Linked DNA regions of Homo sapiens: region 1 is linked to region 2. The links are contacts of gene promoters, found by promoter capture Hi-C in human tissues and cell types (Jung and others, 2019). All regions are on one chromosome and are shown on one strand. The core of a region is centred on a gene start or on the middle of the fragment in contact, and the rest is flanking DNA. Distances in the headings are between cores, read along the strand shown.

Region 1 (2,726 bases), core at 1-2,500, 49 kb after region 2:
CATAGCCACTCGGACACCCAGAGATCTTTCATTTTCTGGGCAAGATCTATTTCCATATTCAGAGCAATTGAATTTTTCCTTCAAAAAACAAGAACAGATAGAATTTTGTCAGAATATAAATATTCTATGTTTTATATATGCTTTCATAGAAAAACTCAAGAAAGGCAGAGAAGAATCAAGGAAGATAATTTATGCTGTAATATTACTCATGATCTTTCCCATTTACTTATTTTAATCTTTATTTGTAATTTTGTAGAATTGTAACCTAATTGGCTTAAAAGATCATTATTGGCCAGGTGCGGTGGCTCACGCCTGTAATCCCAGCACTTTAGGAGGTCGAGGCAGGGGGAGCACTGAAGGTCAGGAGTTTGAGACTAGCCTGGCCAACATGGTGAAACCCCATCTCTACTAAAAATACAAAAAGTAGCCAGGCATGGTGGCATGTGCCTGTAATCCCAGCTACTCGGGAGGCTGAGGCAGCAGAATCGCTGGAACCCAGGAGGTGGAGGTTGCAGTGAGCCGAGATTGTGCCACTGAACTCCAACTTGGGAGACAGAGAGAGACTCCATCTCGAGAAAAAAAAAAAATCATTATTTACTCCATACTTTCCTCTATACTACCAACATTTAGGAAGCTCTTACTTTATGCCAGGCTTTGAAATTTAAAAGAAGAAAAAACAAATTATTGAGCTGTATCTTACGTGTGTAGGAAGAATAGATATCTATTAGACAATACATGTACTTCTTCCTCCAAGGAGTCAGAAATATATAATCAGATTTGATTTGATTGTGATCTATTACCTGTGGGATCAGGAGGTTATTATTTGAAAACAATTTCATTCTTGTGTTCTATTATTTTCACTGTGCTGTGTTTTGTTTTATTCATACGAATGTTGTTTTAAGGGGGAAGAATCATCTAATGACCTCTAATTATCTGGTAGAGTCAATCTATAAGGCAAATCATGAATTCTTAACAAGCATGGCATCAGCCAAAGCAGCTAAGTCAGAGGTGGGCACAGACCAAAGCTGGACCACCCTCAGTTACTTGTGAAGAGCAAGTGTAACTCAGAGCCCTATGCAATGACAGCTTGACAAGTTGCCATGCGTAGGCCACACACAAGGCTATGAGCAGAGGGCTAGAGAACTTTTAGAAAGCAAGCCATCTCTACTACAAGAAAATTAAGCCCATGCCCTCCTTGTGTTGGGCCAGAATGCTCATTTTACATATTAAAATCTGCATGTTATTCTTTCCATATATATTTGAAATGTAACACGTTCATGAGTTAGAATGATTTTCTTTTTAAAAAGTACATTAGGTAAAAAAGAGCTGCCTATATGCAAAGCATAACTCTTAATATTGAAGAAATGCCTTTGGCCTTCAGTGACCTCACACATATCAGACCTTACCAGTTACCAAGAGATAAACAAATAAATTACCAGCCTCTGTGATATAAGAGTGTATCACAAAGAGAGTAAGACATTTTTCTTGAATGTCCACAATATGAAAGATACAAGGAAAGGAAGAAGAAAGCATGAAGGTCAACCCTGCAGCAGAGATTCTACAATGCAGCTGAAGAGACAAAGCACATCAACACTTAAAACCTACATGATTCTGCACCTCAGATGAAAGCAACAGCGGCGATCACCTGACCAAAAAGAGATCCAGGCAAAATGTACAATCCAAGATCAAAAATGGACAAGATCTTTTCAGGCTGGACTGCACAGGAATGTTCCAGCAAGGATATGACTTTTGATCTGGGTCTCAATGGGTGAGTAGGATTTGAACAGAAGAGAAAAAGCCTGTTCTACACAGAAGGTATGATGAAGAAAAGACACAAGGCTGTATGTGTTCCGAGACCTTCTAAAAGGAATTCTCAGGGACCCCTAAAACACCGCAGAGAGAATACAAGGTGGAGGGGAGTATAGAGGGAGAGAAGAAAGTGCTTCTAGTTTCATTGTTGTTCCTCAAGCCAGTGTTCTTAGCCAGCATTAGTCAAAAGAGATTTCCCATTTTGTTCTTAAATTTGGGTAATGATTTTTTTAAATTAAAGTAATTAAGTTAGTTACAAGAGAGTGAGTACAGATTTGAAATTAAAAGCTTCCTCCAACTGATGCCAAGTGGCGACTCCAAGGCAGTTTTCTCCTCGTTATTCTTCCTCCTCAGGGGCCTCGTCCCCACTTGCAGAGAACTAATGGCCTGGTGTATGATGGGACGTATTTGAGCAATAGAACTAAACATCTTTATATCTGCCACCTGGGTGATTGCATACCACAAAATAGAAACACTACCAAACTGCATTTGAGGTCTCTGCCGACGCCCTAAATGCTGTTTACAGAAACAGCTGACTTATTCATGAAAGAGTTTCATCAGAACAGTTTTATCCAGATCTGTCTAAAATGTGTACAACCAGTTCTTAAACTATATTCATTTTTAACAGCTGAAATGGGGGTTTCTAACCAAATACTGCATGCTCTCACTTATAAGTGGAAGCTAAACGATGAGAACTTATGAACACAAAGAAGGAAACGACAGACACTGGGGTCTACTTGGGGCCAGAGCGGGGAGGAGGACGGGAGGAGGGAGAAGAGCAGAAAAGATAACTATTGGGTACTGGGCTCAATACAGGGGTGATGAAATAATCTGTACAACAAACCCCATGACACGAGTTTGCGTATGTAACAAACCTTCACATGTACCCCCTGAACCTAAAATAAAAGTTAAAAAAA
Region 2 (2,700 bases), core at 62-2,561:
TAGGAATCAGATAGCGAGATTGATTAATAATAATACTTATCACTCTTTATAACTTGAAAAGCAAGTTCACAAATGTCTCTAAAGTCACAGCCCTGTACTGGAAAGAGAGTTGAACCCTTCTTCAGGAAGACAATAATATAATAATAACAATATTTTCTTCACTCTGCAGTGTCTTTACATTCCAGGGTTGGGAACATTACTGAGGATTCTCTTCCCATTTTCCAGTTTCCTGTTCATTATTCTTATTTTTTTGACTGCTTTTAGCATCGGGAGCACAAAGGCCAGTCACCAGGAATTGCAAACAAATGCGTAGTCAGAGAGAGAGGGCTCACTGCCCATTTGTCATGTGGATGCAGACACATTGCAGATGTGTTCCCAGTAACAATGTCTTGAGAAGAGGACTGGTCTTTCCACCAGCATCTCAGAAATGCCGGTGTGTCTAAACAGCATGTCGTTCTTTAATGCTTTCATGCAATATATTTTATCAATCTCAAGTTCCCCTCACTATGTATTATAATAATTTCTGCTTGTTGGTAACCAATGCAGATGGAAAATTGATTCTTAACAGAAGAGAAAGAGCCAAGTATTGATGCTTACTATTTACACCCTATTGTATCTTTGTAACAAAAACCCGGGTGGCTAAGTTATGATTGGGAACAAGGGAATGGTTCAAGTCTATGCACTAAGGAAAAACAAATCTTTGGCCTAAAACAATAATGATAATAGAATTTAATATAGAGTAGAGACCTGTTTTGTAGAATAACTTTCCTAGTAATCACTGTTGAAAATAATCATACTAGTTCACACCGCGCACTACAGGGATTCCATCGAGGGATTTTCCCATTGAAGGCATTTATTTAGCTAAAAGGACTTCATCTTTAAGGCGGTAATGCAGGACAGATAACAGAGATAAAGATAACAGGAGGTGATCTTTCAGCTCCATAATTACATTCCATATCAGCGACTGTTGCACAGAGAAACTCAAAAGGTAAAAATAAAATATGAAAGGATATTTAAAATCAAAAGGAATTTTATCAAATTAAGAGCATGAGACATTTATCAGTTGAAACAATCTCCAATAATCTTGTGCAATATAATTTTTGTCAAATTTTATTTTGTCATAAACATTTGGGATTTATAATAAAAATGGAAACTTGAAAAATTATATTAGAGATAATATCTGATCATTTCCTCTGGCATCCTGGTGAATATGTGTTTTTTTCCGCAGGAGCACTGAAAATCAGGAACAATCCTGTATTTTTTGTGATAATCAACAAGGACAAAACTTCTCCATATGTAAATAACAGCGTTATGAGCAGCAATTCATCCCTGCTGGTGGCTGTGCAGCTGTGCTACGCGAACGTGAATGGGTCCTGTGTGAAAATCCCCTTCTCGCCGGGATCCCGGGTGATTCTGTACATAGTGTTTGGCTTTGGGGCTGTGCTGGCTGTGTTTGGAAACCTCCTGGTGATGATTTCAATCCTCCATTTCAAGCAGCTGCACTCTCCGACCAATTTTCTCGTTGCCTCTCTGGCCTGCGCTGATTTCTTGGTGGGTGTGACTGTGATGCCCTTCAGCATGGTCAGGACGGTGGAGAGCTGCTGGTATTTTGGGAGGAGTTTTTGTACTTTCCACACCTGCTGTGATGTGGCATTTTGTTACTCTTCTCTCTTTCACTTGTGCTTCATCTCCATCGACAGGTACATTGCGGTTACTGACCCCCTGGTCTATCCTACCAAGTTCACCGTATCTGTGTCAGGAATTTGCATCAGCGTGTCCTGGATCCTGCCCCTCATGTACAGCGGTGCTGTGTTCTACACAGGTGTCTATGACGATGGGCTGGAGGAATTATCTGATGCCCTAAACTGTATAGGAGGTTGTCAGACCGTTGTAAATCAAAACTGGGTGTTGACAGATTTTCTATCCTTCTTTATACCTACCTTTATTATGATAATTCTGTATGGTAACATATTTCTTGTGGCTAGACGACAGGCGAAAAAGATAGAAAATACTGGTAGCAAGACAGAATCATCCTCAGAGAGTTACAAAGCCAGAGTGGCCAGGAGAGAGAGAAAAGCAGCTAAAACCCTGGGGGTCACAGTGGTAGCATTTATGATTTCATGGTTACCATATAGCATTGATTCATTAATTGATGCCTTTATGGGCTTTATAACCCCTGCCTGTATTTATGAGATTTGCTGTTGGTGTGCTTATTATAACTCAGCCATGAATCCTTTGATTTATGCTTTATTTTACCCATGGTTTAGGAAAGCAATAAAAGTTATTGTAACTGGTCAGGTTTTAAAGAACAGTTCAGCAACCATGAATTTGTTTTCTGAACATATATAAGCAGTTGTATAGACGAAGTTCAGGATACCTTTAAAATTACCAAGCGAAATGAGTTTTTAAAAATCAAGTAAGACTATGAATGAATAGCAAATAAATTGCTCTTCAAATGAAAAACAAATCAATGTTTTTCAGTCTTGTTAAGATGTGCACTTTCCTGTCCCTTCTGCAAAAGTATTTACTTGGCTAACAAATGTTAAATTCCTATTTGTTAACTGCTTTAGAGCTCAGCATATCCCACTCCCTGCAGACACTTTTTGTCTTTTAATCCATTGACTCTTCCCTCTGCTCTGGTATTTTTCCTAAAAATATTTGTTTTTTTTTTTTTATTTATTCCCTTTCCTCTTTTCTTTA

Evidence for each region. Contacts are between HindIII fragments. The study calls those that stand out against the background at their distance.
Region 1: a contact is called between a fragment that was not itself captured here and the fragment with the promoter of TAAR6 in region 2, in 1 of the 25 tissues and cell types used here (hippocampus).

Annotation. Positions count from the first base shown.
Region 1 is chr6:132,618,068-132,620,793 of GRCh38, forward strand. It overlaps TAAR2 (trace amine associated receptor 2), which reads right to left. Exons shown (of 2, transcript NM_001033080.1): 2 at 1-78. Among named protein-coding and RNA genes, the nearest start is that of TAAR2, 4.8 kb to the right of the region's middle. The HindIII fragment of the contact is 4,774 bases long and covers 1-2,726 here.
Region 2 is chr6:132,569,011-132,571,710 of GRCh38, forward strand. TAAR6 (trace amine associated receptor 6) reads left to right here and starts at 1,312. Exons shown (of 1, transcript NM_175067.1): 1 at 1,312-2,349. The coding sequence starts at 1,312. The coding sequence ends at 2,349. The HindIII fragment of the contact is 8,933 bases long and covers 1-2,700 here.